Linked DNA regions of Homo sapiens: regions 1, 2 and 3 are each linked to region 4. The links are contacts of gene promoters, found by promoter capture Hi-C in human tissues and cell types (Jung and others, 2019). All regions are on one chromosome and are shown on one strand. The core of a region is centred on a gene start or on the middle of the fragment in contact, and the rest is flanking DNA. Distances in the headings are between cores, read along the strand shown.

Region 1 (3,747 bases), core at 185-2,684, 310 kb after region 4:
CAGCTCTCTGTAAGAGTTTGTTGCTGCTGACTGATTTCTAGAGGAAAGTCAGCTCTGCTTGGTGCAGCTCTCTGCTTTGTAACAGTTTGTTGCTGCTGAGTGATTTCTAGAAGTGTGTTTTGAAGAGGGAGATGTGAAGACTTGCCTGGACATGGTGCTAGATTTCTAGTCAGCTGGGCTAGGGCAGGGATCCTGTGTGGGAGTCAGCCAAATGAGGAAAACATCTTGGGTGTGGCCTGAGGATATTGTCCTTACTTTGCTCTACTTGCTGGTGTTAGGTACTGTCAGAATTATGTTGTTGATGTCAAAAACTCAAGCATGAGTTTTCCTCCCTCTTCCTTGCCCCTCCTCCTGCTAGCTCCTTTCCCAGCCCTAAATACTTTTTCTTTTCCAAGTCAGCCTCATTCATGCTGGATGCCATTCCAGGCTTTCAAATTCTGTTAACCAAATATGAATATTTTCTTGGTCTCCAAACTTTTTCTTACCTAGTGGTCTTCAGATATGGTGTGTACCACTGGAGGTACACAAAAACTTTCCAAGGAGTCTGTCAGCAGAGATAATTTTAAGAGAATCAGTTTCCTGATTCTCACCTTCCATTCTACTCTTTCCTAAAGTTGATCTACTTGAGAATCCCTTTAGCTGTAGGTGATAGCATTGTGGTTTTAATTTATGTCTCTAATGACTAATGATGTTGAGCATCTTTTTATGTGTGTATTAGCCATTTACTTTGTTGTTTAAATATTCACATCTTTTGCTCATTTTAAAGCTGAGGTTATTTGTCTTTTAAGAGTTCCTTATATATTCTGGATACGAGCCCTTTGTCAGATAAATGATTTGGAAATGTTTACTCCCAGTCTGTGGCTTCTGTTTTTATTTTCTGAATGATACAAATTTTTGAAGAGTTTTCAAGAGTAAAGGTTTTTAATTTTACAGAGTCCAGTTTATCCACTTTTTCTTTTATGGGCTCTGCTTTTAGTATCTTATCTAAGAATTCTTTGCTCAACACTAGGTCACAGTTCTTTCAAAAGCATTATTGTTTTAACTGTTACATTTAGGTGTATGATCCATTTTGAGTATAGTATGAGATAAGGATCTAAGTTTGTTTTTTTTTTTTTAATATATAGATCTCATTGTTCCCAGCACCATTTGTTGAAAAGATTAACATTTCGCCTATTGAATTGCCTTGGCGTCTTTGTTTAAAATCAGTTAAACATAAACGTAAGGTTGTATTTTTGAGTTTTTTTGTTATATTGACCTATATGTCTACCATTGTGCTAGCACTATGCCATCTGGTGAGATGTTTTCTAATTTCCTTTGAAATTTCCTCTTTGACTCATGGGTTATTTATAAGTTTGTTGTGTGATATCCTAATATTTGGAAGTTTCTCACATTTCTTTCCATTGATTTCTAATTCCATGTAGTTGGAGAACACTGTGTGATTTTAGTCTTTTAGGCCACTTGTTTTGTGGCATGGCATGTTTTATTCCATGTTCACTTGAAAATAATGAGTCCTCTGTTGTTGGGTACAGTGTACTATAAATATCAGCTAGATTAAGTTGGTTGGTGGTGGTGTTCATGTATCTATAGCCTTGTTAATTTTCTGTCTAATTCTGTAATACTGAGAGAGATGAAAATCTCTATTATAGTTCCTGAATTGTCTACTTGCTTTTTCAATTCTGTCTTTTTTTTTTTTTGCTTCTTTATTTTGAAGCACTGTTCCTAGAGGTAAATGCATGTTTGTTATATCTTCTTACCATATTAACTCTTGTAATTATGGTAAACAGCATAGTTGAGTAGTTAAAACAGAGATTGTATGGCCTGCAAAACAAAATATTAACTATCTGTGCCCCCGTTTTTTTTTTTTTTTTTTTTTTGATACGGATCATGTATTTGTGTGACCACCACTACCACAGTCAATTTGTAGAGCAGTTAAATCACTGCCAAAATTCCCTCTTGCTTCCTTGTAGTCAGTCCTTCTCCCAACCCCAGGTACTTGGCAACCTGTTTTCCGTTCCTAGACATTTTCCTTTTCCAGAATGTCATATTCGTAAAATCATTTAACATTGTAGTCTTTTGAGCCTGACTTTTGTTTTTGAGACAGGGTCTTGCTCTGCAGTGTGGGCTAGAGTACAATGGTACAATCATGGCTCACTGCAGCCTCGACCTCCTGCGCTCAAGCAGTCCTCCCTGCCTTGGCCTTCCAAAGTGCTGGGATTATAGGTGTGAGCCACTGCACCTGGCCCTGAGTCTGACTTCTTATTTAAATCATTTGAGATTCATCTGTGTTGCTGTGTGCCATCAGTAAGTTAGTTACTTTTATTGTGAGCAATATCCCATTGTATGGATGTTCCAGTTTATCCCTTACTCAGTTGAGAGACACTGAAATTATTTGCAGTTTTTTGGTAATTATGAATAAAGCTGCTATAAACCTTTGTAGACAAGGGTTTGTGTTAACATAAGCTTTTATTTTAGTGTGATGTGGGATTGCTGGGTCATGTGGAAAGCATTTCTTTTAACTTTATACTGCCATACATATGTATTTCTAATCTACAGAATAAGCTCATGACATAAATTATCTCTGTATATATTCCAGAAATCAAGACTCAAAAGGTTAATTAACTTATTCGTGTACACATAGCAAGTGGCTGAGCTGGGATTGAACAAAAGTCTAACTCCGAAGCTTGGGTCCTTTCCACTATGCCCTACTTCTTCCACGTAAAGAAGTCATTTGACTTTAAAATTATACAGTAGCCTTCATAATGTTCTTAAATTTCCTGAAACAAGCAAAGTTTTGAAAGTCGCCTGTGGTTTCTTAAAGCTGGATTTCTCACAGTCTCTCCATTTATATATTGCCGCATTTACGTATACTGTTTCTTAGTTGGGCTTTACTTTCTTTAGACTTCTATGTATGTTTTCCAAATCTGGTTTGCATAAGGTGACTCATACAAGAATGCTTCTAAACAAACAAGCCGTATATGTTTATGTAAATGTTACATTTTAAAAATGACATTGCATAAAGAAATTTTGTTCCTGTTATCTGAAAAATTTTAGGATATGAAACATTGAATACTTTGACCATGACTTGAAAGCCCAGCTGAATAGAGATCTAATAACTAGTAACAACTTTTATTCAAAGGGCATTACTTACAGGTTGTTTATTGGTCTTCTTTTGTGCTCAGTTTATATCTGCTCTGAAATATGAGCCATGTCTTAAAATTTGATAATGAGCTGAGGATAATTTGGAGAAGCAAAGGAGAATAAGTACTTGTAGGCTTGAATCAATTGATCTTATTTGTTACTTGGAATTAAGGTGTAAGGAGTACTCCAAAGTCACAAATGACTTCTAGATTGAAGCTATAGAATAAAGGTTTGCAGGCCAATAAAATTGAAGCTCTCTGAAAGTGGCAAGCAGACAAAACATCCTAAATTTATTTTGGCTTCCCCTGGACATACTTGCCATCTGTTCAGTTAAGATTACGAATTTTTGTATTGCCAAAATACTAACTTGTGTGTGATCATAATAGAATATTTAATACTGTTTTTCTAAGCTTGCTTTTTCAAAATAACCTAATAGAAGTACTTAATGATTTTTTCCTGATAAATTTGCTTTCTAAAAATGTATGACAGGGCCAGGCATGATGACTCACATTTGTAATTCCAGCAGTTTGGGAGGCCAAGGCAGGAGGATTGCTTGAACCCAGGAGTTTGAGACCAGCCTGGGCAACATAGGGAGACCTTGTCTCTACA
Region 2 (3,799 bases), core at 522-3,021, 420 kb after region 4:
AATTGTGACTATTCATCCAATGGAATACCACTCAGCAATAAAAAGGAGAGAACTATTTATACATATTAAGAACATGGATGAATCTCAAGTTAATTGTGCTGAAAGAATTCAGACAAAAAAAGAGCACACACTGGATTCGTCTATTTATATTAAATTCTAGAAAATACAAACTAATTTATAGAAAGCAGATGAGTAGTTACCTGGATAATAGAGGAGTAGGAAGAGAATTACAGAGGAGCCTTAGAAATCTTTTGGGGGTGTATTAGCCATTTTCAACTGCTATCAAGAACTGCCTGAGAGTTCTCACAAGATCTGATGGTTTTATAAGGGGCTCTTCCACCTTTCCTCCCCAGCCATGGTGAACTGTGAGTCAATTAAATCTCTTTCCTTTATAAATTATCCAGTTTACTGAGAGTTGGATACAAATGTACAGTTTACTGGGTAATTTATAAAGGAAAGAGGTTTGACTCACAGTTCACCATGGCTGGGGAGGCCTCAGGTAACTTACAATCACGGCAGAAGGCAAAGGGGAAGCAAGGCACCTTCTTCACAAGGCGGCAGGAAGGAGTAGTGCCAAATGAAGGGGCAAGAGCTCCTTATGAAACCATCAGATGTCGTGAGAAGTCACTCACTATCGCAGGAACAGCATGGGGGAAACTGTCCCTATGATTCAATTACCTCCACCTGGTGTCTCCCTTGACACGTGGGGATTATGGGAATTATGGGGATTACAACTCAAGATGAGGTTTGGGTGGGGACACAAAGACTAACCATATCAGGGAGTAATGGGTATGTTATTATCTTGATTATGGTAATGGTTTCATGAGTGTACATGTATGCCATAGCTTCTCATACTGTACACTGTAAATATATGCCATTTATTATATATCAATTAACCCTCAATACAGCTGTAAGAAAAACATTAAATCAAACTCTTTTAAATGATAATCAGCCATAAATCAATTACAAAAAGAAACGCATGTGCTAAATATATTTAACGTTTTTAAAGCAAAATTGAGCTGTACTTTTCTACTTTCTGGGAATCTTTTCAATTAATCTTAATCAGCAGTAGAGCTTGTTTTACTTTTCTGTGTTACTGTCTGATGCTCAGTGGGTAGAGCACTGCAGTTTTGGTTATTAACATGCTTTCTGTGTCTTTTGTATTAATTAAACCTATCGTTCATGTTGCAACCGATATTTGTCTACTTAAATTTTTTATTGAAATAGGGCTTGGTATAGAATTCAATACCTATGGTTGTAAGAAAAGAGATACATACCCTCACTTAACTATGGCATTTTGTTTGCCAAAAGAGCTAGTTGCATGCATGCAGCACTCACTTGTATATCTATTTATCAAATGAGATAAATCTAAGAAAGCACTTTGTAAATTGTAAAATACTAGAGAGGTAGAAATTGTTACTGCTACTGCTCCACTGCTATTAATTAGTTAGGATGGGGAATGGTGAATATTAATTCATTTGCTCAATACAACCAGGTAATTTAGAAGGCTCTAACTCCAAAGTCAACCAATGTATTAATAACAAAATTAGCATAAAGCTGATATATGAGCAGATGAGGTACTGTTGTCATAGAAACACATCCAAGATGGGTGCAACCTGCACTACTTTTTTCTTCTATAACAGAATTGTAATAATACATAATTATAATACAATTACATAATTGTAATATAATATATATTGTATTACAATTTTGTTAGAGAAGGAAATGGTAGTGCTGGTTGCACCCATTTTGGATGTGTTCCTACAAAGAACACACACACACATATATATATACACACACACACACACAAATAGGTATATGTGCACACACGTTTGGCAGCCTCAGGATTATTGAGATTATAAAGAAATAATAAAATTTTAGGTGCAAACTAGGGATTTTGCATGTCAAATAAAACTCTGGTCAATGAGTGTCATCAACACTTAACATGAAGTCAAGTAACCCTCACAAATAATAAACCCTCTCCCAATTTCCCACACATTAGAGAGTACTATCTTGAAACAAAGATATCCCACAATCTCCTGTTCTGTAGAATCCTCTGTAGCTTCCTTTTTACCACCTATATTTTACCTTCTTTTCTGTTTTGTTCCCTAACCTCCTTTATTTAATTCTCTTTAGTCTGCTGTGCTCTTGAACTATAAATCAAAAGTTCAATTTTTTCTTCCTCATTCTCTTCCCAGGCTTTTTCTTTCCTGTGAGAATCGATGTCAATCAAATGCTTATAAAACTCCTTTCACGTAATTTTTTTCAGAGCAATGCCACAGTTAAAAGCTTGCTAGGATTCGCAGTGCAGTTTTTCTTGCTCATCCCGAGCACATCACAGACAAAGGATCACTGAGGGTTTGAGTATTCTACCTTATACATTCTAAAGGATTTAAAATGAAAAAATATTTTCATGTCTCTCAGCTGAGGCCTTAAAAGCCTATCTTTTATTTCTGAGGCTGAAGAAGGTCTGGGATTCTCTCTCTTGGGCCTGGATTTCCATTCTCAATGTATCATATCATGGATTTTTTAAAAAGATGATCATTAGATTACCAATTTAACTAGTAGAAGACTAGATGCCAAAATTTATGAACTGTATGTATTGGTCAGGGTTCTCCAGAGAAATTGAACCAATGGGAGATAATGCATATATATATATATATGATGGAATTTATTAAGTTGTTGCTCAGGCATTATGGAGTCTGAGAAGGTTCACAATCTGCAATCTACAAGCTAGAGGCCCAGGAAAGCTGGTGATGTAGTTCCAAGGTCTGAGAGCCTGAGAGCCAATAGTATAGATTCCAGTCTGGGTCTAAAGACTTGAGAGCCAGGAGCACCAACAGAGGAAGACTGATGTCCCAGATCAAGCAGTCCGTCAGAGTTAATTAAACCTTCCTTGGCCTTTTTGTTCTATTCAGGCCCTCAATGGACTGGATGATACCCACTCATGCTGGGGAGGGTCATGTGCTTTACTCAGTCTGCCCATTCAAATGGGAATTTTTTCCAGAAACATCCTCAGAGGCACATGAGGATGAGAAATAATGGTTAGCCAGCAGCCCATGACACTCAAGACCCAATCAAGTTGGCCTATAGAATTAATCATCACAATGTAATATGATGATGTAAGTGTTGGTTTGGATTTTGAATAACATGGATATTGAGATGAGGCAAAGAGTAGAATAACTGAGTCATCTGGTAGCAACTGGTAAGAACCACAATACTCCTGTTAGCCTCACAAAAAAAGGACACCCTCTCCCATTATGGGTTTGGGATAGCAGTATTCTCTTTGGCCAGCTGTGGACACTTATATGTCTGCTGAGACAGTTACTAAAGAGGCCACAGCCTCTGACTGAAAGAAGTATAACCCAGGATCCTGGCACCCTTCAGGCTGCTTAGACTGTAGCATGGACCAAATACCACCCAGCTAGAGACACTGCAGGATGCACCTCTTCCTGAGGAACACTCCCACTCCCAGGGCCATAGGAGGAAATAACAAGACATGCTTTTAATGTGAATATATGTAAGTATGACTGCTCTCTGTTACAAGGCAGAGCCTAATAGGAAAACATCCAAAGTCACAGCCCCTGGCCACCATCAATACAATCCACAAACCAATCTAGATCCTTCTGATTTTCCTTCAAAATAATAATTTCATTAATGCCCATTACTGTAACCAGCCCAGGCTGTGGTTTTGTCATGTGTAGATTAAGTAACTATTATATCTTGAAGGCCTGCCACATGACAGGCACTTCACATACATCATTATTCTCACAATCACACTTAACTTAATAGTAAAGCT
Region 3 (3,625 bases), core at 155-2,654, 440 kb after region 4:
CTCTTTCATTCATAATTTGATTTCAATCCTCTCTTTATTTCTTGGTTATCTAGCTAAATTTGCCAATTTTGTTTGTCTTTTCAAAAATCAAAGTCTTCATTTTGTTAATCTTTTATATTGTCTTTCTAATCTGTATTTCATGTGTTTTGTTCTTATCTTTATTACTTTGTTTATTCGGCTAAGTTTGAGATTTCTTCTTCTTCTTCCTTGATGTTTAAAGTTAGGTTATTTGAGATCTTTCATTTTTCTTGACATAGGCATTTATTGCTATATTAAGAACTGGTTTTGCTGCATCCCATAAGTTTTAGTATGTTGTGTTTCCATTTTATTTGTCTCAAGATATTTTTTAAATTTCCTTTTTGGTTTCTTCTTTTTCCCATTGGTTGTTCAGAAATGTGTTGCATAATTTCCACATATTTGTGGTTTTCCATTTTTCTCCTGTCATTGATTTCCAGTTTTATACCATTGTGGTCAGAAAAGATACTTGATATGATTGCAATCTTCTTAAAAAATTTTAAGACTTGTTTTAAGTCCTAACATTTGATCTTTACTTGGATAATATGTAATCTGCTGCTTTTGGATAGAATGTTCTGTATTTGTCTGTTAGAGCCACTTGGTCTACAACATTGTTTAACTCTTCTGTTCCCTTACTGATTTGCTGTCATTGTGGAAGGTGGGTATTGAAGTCCCCTACCACTATTGTATTACTATCTATTTCTCCTCCCTCCAGTTCTGTTAATATTTCCTTTATATATTTAGGTACTCCAGTTTTGGGTACATATATATTTACAATTGTTATATCCTCTTGACGACATGACCCCCTTGTCATTGTATAATGGCCCTCTTTGTCTCTTGTCACAGTTCTTGACTTAAAGTCTATTTTGTCTAAGTAGCCACCCCAACTTTCTTTAGATTACCATATGCATGGGATATTATTTTCCATTCCTTCACTTCCAGCTTATGTGTGTCTTTTTTTTATTTTTTAATTTTTATTTGCCAAATTATTTCTCACTTGAGACCTATGCATGTCTTTAAACTGAAAGTGAGTCTCCTATATGCAGCATAGTTGGATCTTGGTTTTTAAAATCCATTTGGCCACTCTATGTTTCTTGATTAGATAACTTAATCCACTTATATTTAATTATCAATAGGCAAGGACTTACTACTGCCATTTTGTTGTTTTCTGCTTTGGAGTTCCTCTCTTCCCTTCTTCTTTTGCTGTTTTCCTTTGTGATTTTATGACTTTTTATGGTGGTATGCTTGGATTCCTTTATCTTAATTTTTTCTGTATCAACTACACATATTTCCTTTGTGGCTATCATGAGGCTTATTTAAAAATAGTTTACAGTTATAACATTTTATTTTAAGCTCATAATAGGTTGAATCACATCAAAAAAAACTCTATACTTTTAATTCTCCTCACCAAGTCACATTTAAGGTTATTAATGTTACAATTTACATCTGTTTAATATTGTGTATTCATTAACAAATTATTGCAGTTAAAGTTACTTTTAATATTTGTCTTTAAACTTTTACACTAGAGTTGAAAGTGATTTACATAACACTATTTCAATATTAGAAAATTCAGAATTTAACTATATACACTTGCCCCTCACTGTTTGTGGTGGATTGATTCCAGAACTTTCTGTGGATACCAAAATTTTCAGATGCTCAAATCCCTGATAAAAAGTGGCATAATATTTGCATATAACCTATGCACATTTTCCAACGTTAAATCATCTCTAATTTACCTATAATACCTAATAAAGTGTAAATACTATATAAATAGTTGTTACACTGTATTGTCTAGGGAAGAATGACAAGAAAAATGTCTGCACATCTTCAATACTGATGTGATTTTTTTCTAATATTTTAAATCTGTGGTTGGTTGACTTGACAGATGTGAAACCCAAAGATATAGAGGGCTGACTGTATTTACCTTTCCCAGTGAGTTTTATACATTCATATATTTTTACATTGTTAATTATAATCATTTCATTTCAGATTGAAAAACTCCCTTAACTCCCTTTAGCATTTCTTGTAAGGCAGGTCTAGTAGTAATAAACCCCCACAGCTTTTGTTTGGGAAAGTCTTTATCTTTCCTTCATTTCTCAAGGACAACTTTCCTGGGTATAGTATTCTTGGCAGTTTTACTGCTTTCAATATTTTTAATATATGACCCTACTCTCTCCTGGCCTGCAAGGTTTCTGATGAGTAATCCAGTGACAATCTGATGGAGACTCCCTCATATGTGATGAGTCACTTTTCTCTTGGTACTTTCAAAATTCTCTCTTTGCCTTTGAATTCTGCTAATTTACTTGCTGTATACCTCTTTGAGATCAAACTATTTGAGAACCTTTGGGTCTAATGAATCTCAATGTCCATTTCTCTCCCCAAATTTGGGAAGTTTACAGTCATTATTCTTTAAAATAGACTTTCTTCCCATTCTCTCTCCCATTCTAGGACTCCCATTATATGTATATGTTTTGCTTATACTGTCCTATAAACCCTATAGGGTTTCTTCACTGTTTTTCATTTTTTTGATTTTTTACTCCTCTGGATAATTTCAAAGGATGTCTTCAAGTTCACTGATTCTTTCTTCTGCTTGCCTGAGTCTATCAGCTCTTTATTGAACTTTTTAGTTGAAGAATTCCGTTCTTCAGCTTTCTTTGTTGAACATTTCATTTGTTCATGTATTGTTTTCCTAATTTTGTTTAGTTGCCTATCTGTGTCTTCTTGTAGTTACAAACTTCTTTAATAGGGTTATTCTGAATTCTTTGCCAGTCAGTTTATAGATACTTATTTCTTTAGAGTCAGTTATTGAAGCTTTATTTGTTTTCTTTGGTAATGTCATGTTCCTCTGATTCTTCGTGATGCTTGCATCCTTGCATTGGTGTCTATGCATTTGACTAAGCTGTTCCCTCTTCCAGACTTTATAAGTTTACTTCATTCGGAAAAGACCTTCATGAGTCATCCCAGCCTGGAGTGGGATAGGCCATCTGGTAGTAATCATGGATAGATGAGGCTTGCTGCCAGAGTCTCTGATTGGGCAGGGCCAGTGCCTGTGTTATGAGGTCAAGTGGGGGTTATTGGCTGGGGTCCTTGGTCAGGTGAGTCTATTAGCTATGCTCTGTGGTCAAGCAGAGCCACTGGCTGGACACTGCAATTGGGCATGGCCATAGTCTGTGCCTCAAAGTTGAGCAACATAACTGGTTGGGTCCCTTGCCTAGGTAGGGCTGCTAACTGTGTTCCTTGGATGGGAAGGGTCACTGGCCAGGCTTCTTTGTCAGGCAGGGCTATAGGCTGTGCTCTGCTAGTTGGTGTGGTTATAGTCTGGGCTCTGTGGCTAGGCCAGACTACTAACCAGCAATCTCAGCTGGGCAGAACTCTGACCATCCTTGTTGGCCAGTTGGGGCAGCTGACTTAGTTCTGTGGGTGGGCAGAGCCAGTGGCTGGTCTCTCTGGTTAGTCAAGGCTGCTGGCAGGGATCTAGTGCCAGCACTAAGATTTGTCTGCTGGTAGCTATAAGCTCTGCCTCCCTTCTTTTGTACCTAGCCCACCCCTTGTGCTCTAGCCGTGCCAATTCCCTCAGTGTTCCTCATGAAGTCAGATACAAGTGGGCCTC
Region 4 (3,846 bases), core at 624-3,123:
ATAGAAAATATCTCATTAATTTCTTGAGTCCCCTTGTGAGGCAAGAAAATGACATTCTTATCCAACAGCTGGAAAAGCTGAAGAATTAGTGGATGTAACTGTGCTCAACTGCAAAGGAAAAAAATAGCTTTACTATACCCTGAGATGTGGATATGAAAGAATATTGCATACACATATACCCTCTCCCTTATTTTTAAGGAATCAATATCTGCTTAAAGAATAAGACTAGTTAAAACCCTTGGATCTTGGCCCTATAACTTTTGGCAGAGTATATTACTGCTTCATGGCCTGGCAGTGCAGTGACTCTTTTAATTTACTTTAAAATAGCTTTTCCCTAATCTGTACAACCTAACATCTGACCAATCATGAATCTTCAGCAAACTTAAGCCTCTTATTCCATACATTTTTTAAAACTGTAAAAATTCAGGAAATAACTCTTTGCAAAGTACATTGAAGCATTTATTGGGAAGCAAAAAAGCACAAGTTGAAGTGATTTGTAGTTTCATAAAAACGAATTTGACATTTTACTTAGAAGTTGCAAACCACCACATGGTTTTGAGTTTTGAATTCATTTGCTTTGCAAAAAGTGGAATGTTTTATTTGAATGGAAATGCCCTCAAGTTACTTCCAGCATGGCTGTAGGATTGATTTTTCTAGGTTAAGGGAATGCCAAAGTTTAGTGCCTTGTGTATATTCTTTTCGAAAAAAACAAACTATTATCCATGTATTTAAATGGACGTAGGAAATTCAAGAACAAATCAGGGAAATTTAACATCATTTCAGTATTACCAACATAGGGCTTTGTGTAACGACTGTGACATCAAGATAAGGCTTTACCTCGGCTCATCCAATAGAAATACAGTATGTAAATTAACCCATATTATCTGTATGCTGATTGGCCTGAGTTCCCCTGAATGTCACAATCTCACCACCCAGCAATGAGGTATTTTACTGCTGTCTCAAGATCAGATTATTACTGTAGAGAAGATTTTTATTTTTTGTTTCATTAACAGATTATTATAAAGCAAAAAGCATGCAGAAAAAGAAGCAGACGTTTTACATTGGGAATTAATGAAAGCGTGTCTGCTAGTTTTGGGTAGGAGAACTGGGAAGTTGTTGCTTAAAATTTTATATCACCTCCACAAACAAAACTCTTCGGAAATGGTAAAATAAGAAAATGCATGATTCTAGAGGCATTCCTAAGCACCCACGTGTCAGGCTTTGTGGTGTCTGTGGTATCATCCGACCGTTTGGACTGGTGTAAGTTTTACGTATTTGTTATATTTCTAGTATTTTTCATCTGTAATAACAAAGGGGAAAAAAGGAAACTCGTACACATAACTGCTTTGACATCACCCATCATTGGTCAGCGGAACTTGTAAGAAGGGAAAAGGAATACTGTTGCTTGGTGGGGTGGAATGCCAGGAATAGCCATTTAAACATTTTATAAGCCTGATTCTTTAGTGACATCCTTTAAGGTAGACTGAATGTAAATCATATTGTAGTTGTCCTCTGAACTTAGCTTTCTCCCTACTTTTACGCATATTTGCGTGCATTGGAGAATAGAAGATGACTAACAAAGAGAGAGCTGCCCTAACGTGCCTTCCCTTCTTCCCCATTGAAAAGATTTTTAACTGTGGGAAAAAGATAAATAAATAAATAAATAACTTTTTTTCTTTTTTCCCATTCTTTTCTTGTCTTTTTCCAGCTAACCTGCAAATTTAAAGGTTAGCTGGAGACATCACTTAAAAATAAATATATAAAAGAAGCCTCCGGTGGTTTGGACCACCCTAAAAGAAAAGGGAAGAAAGTGTCTGGGGAAGGTTAGGGTTCCGGGAAGCTGAGGGAGGGGGCGGGCGTCACGGGCACTGTGACTTCCTCGTGCGCTGCCTTTGGGAAGAGGATGGGCCTGAGGTCCTGAAAGGGCCTTTCCAGCCCCCCACTACAAATGCGGGGAGGGAAAAGTTCAGAAGCAGCCACGAAGGGACAAAAGCTTAATGCTGCCAGTTGGATTGGACAGGGCAGTCAATAAACCCAGCCAGCTCTGGAGTCAGGTAGGGGTTCCTGCTGGTTCCACAGAGGCTGAAGCAGCCCCGCCGCCGCCCTCGCCACCGCAGCCGCCGCCGCCGCGGCCCCTGCGTTACTGGGGGAGACGGTGCCGCTGCGACAGGGGAGGACGCGGCTGGAGCTCAAGGAGGCTCCAGCGCGCAGGCGCCGCCGAGCCCTGCCTGGATGCTCAGTCAAGGCACTAAGGCAAAAAAAAAAAAAAAAAAAACAAAAAACAAAAAAAAAAAAAAAAAAAAGAAAAAGAAAAAAAGAAAAAAATCAGCAATTTATAGAAAGAAGCTATAGTCTGTCGGGATATCCAACACCAACAGGTAGGAGGATATACTCTTGGTTAAGTTTGGGGGATGTGGGGGAATGCACAGTGTTGATGAAACTGCAGGTTCACCGAGAAAGAGCCCTCCCTCAGGTTGTGTGTGTGTGTGTGTGTGTGTGTGTCTCTGTGTGTGTGTGTGTGTGTGTGTGTGTATGTGTTTTGTGACAATAAACTGCATAATGGAAGTACATTCAGACAATGCATCTTCAGTAGGGCTTACTGAGAGCTCCATTTCTGGAAAGCCTTACAAGACTGAGGAATATCAGACTGCGAATCACCGGGAACGGTTCCTTTGCAGCACAGAAGCAATCTCTCTCCCCATCTTCGCGTATGTAATGCATGTCTCTCTCCCTCTCCCCCTCCTCCACCCTCCCCCCATTATAAATCCAGGGGTGGCGGATTTCAGGTTTCGTAATGTTGCATGATGCGATCGGTATTTACCCGAGGATGTACCGGTGGGGAAATTAAAATCATCGAACGCAGTTTTGCCTGGGCTTCCACCAGCATATTCCGGGCCAGTGAGAAGTGGCAAAAGAAACACGCTTGGTGGGAATAACAGAGGAAGCCGATTTCCCTGGTGTGGTCCAGGCACCTGCGAGACAATGTGCATTTTGTTTTAAAAAGCAGCCACTTGTGATTTGCAACAAAGGTTATCAGTGTAAATGGGAAAGGCTTAATTGCCCAAGAAATACAGGTTCATGTTATATTCATTTGAATCCAGGCAGCCAAGGTTTACAAATGGAAGTGCATTATTCCTCTGGGTGTGTTTCCCTGTCCAATATTTACATTAACCATTTTAATAATCATGTGGGCTTAAAAGATTTGCCAGAAATGGGGGGTAGGGTGGAGAGGGAAAGACAAATGATTAAATCACATCAAATCTTGGGACAAGTAAGTTCCTATTAATTTTGAAGTTAATTTTGAAATTTTGCTTTAAGATGAATCAACAAATACTCTTATGCAGCATGAATAGTGGCACTTAAGATATATTTTGCACGGGTTCTTTGGACCCACATCAAACAGAGAAGCTGCCTGTGAAACACTGACAGATACTAATAGATCTCAAATAAATGTAGGTAGTGTCTCTGCCTCCTAATAGCAATCTTGTAGATTCCATTGCAATTCTAGTGGTTAATTCCTGGACTGGCATATTTTACAAGAATGGGACATTTTATTCCTTCTCTCCTAAAGTTACCCTATCAAATGTATATTGTCCAAAATAGGGACATTTTAAAATTCACTTAGCTTGAAAAACTAAACAAGCCAATTCTCTGAAATCTCGAGCAAAAATATTTAGTAAAGCAAATATTAGTATTCAAAATTAAAACTTTATTTGCTTCCCCATAAGTGAACAGCTTTGTTAGCACTGTCTGACATCATTGCTTGTTAACTTAAGAACTGATAGGTTTTTTTTTTTTTTTTTTTCAGATATTCTGATGGCAAAACAAGTGGAAGAAAAGAGGAAG

The links. The method cuts DNA at HindIII sites, captures the fragments that hold promoters and counts their contacts. A contact is called where the count stands out against the background at its distance.
Region 1: a contact is called between a fragment that was not itself captured here and the fragment with the promoter of GPR85 in region 4, in 3 of the 25 tissues and cell types used here (dorsolateral prefrontal cortex, lymphoblastoid cells and spleen).
Region 2: a fragment that was not itself captured here is called in contact with the fragment with the promoter of GPR85 in region 4 in 1 of the 25 tissues and cell types used here (mesenchymal stem cells).
Region 3: a contact is called between a fragment that was not itself captured here and the fragment with the promoter of GPR85 in region 4, in 2 of the 25 tissues and cell types used here (lymphoblastoid cells and mesenchymal stem cells).

Annotation. Positions count from the first base shown.
Region 1 is chr7:112,779,071-112,782,817 of GRCh38, reverse strand. All of the region lies in intron 2 of TMEM168 (transmembrane protein 168), which reads left to right. Among named protein-coding and RNA genes, the nearest start is that of TMEM168, 9.4 kb to the left of the region's middle. RefSeq lists an enhancer at 1-287. The HindIII fragment of the contact is 6,688 bases long and covers 1-3,747 here.
Region 2 is chr7:112,668,876-112,672,674 of GRCh38, reverse strand. All of the region lies in intron 5 of LOC101928012 (a long non-coding RNA gene), which reads right to left. Among named protein-coding and RNA genes, the nearest start is that of LINC03076, 53 kb to the right of the region's middle. The HindIII fragment of the contact is 7,161 bases long and covers 1-3,799 here.
Region 3 is chr7:112,648,340-112,651,964 of GRCh38, reverse strand. All of the region lies in intron 5 of LOC101928012 (a long non-coding RNA gene), which reads right to left. Among named protein-coding and RNA genes, the nearest start is that of LINC03076, 32 kb to the right of the region's middle. RefSeq lists an enhancer at 3,376-3,625. The HindIII fragment of the contact is 6,629 bases long and covers 1-3,625 here.
Region 4 is chr7:113,084,854-113,088,699 of GRCh38, reverse strand. GPR85 (G protein-coupled receptor 85) reads left to right here and starts at 1,873. Exons shown (of 3, transcript NM_001146267.2): 1 at 1,873-2,378; 2 at 2,591-2,708; 3 at 3,809-3,846. RefSeq lists a silencer at 2,128-2,187. The HindIII fragment of the contact is 9,773 bases long and covers 1-3,846 here.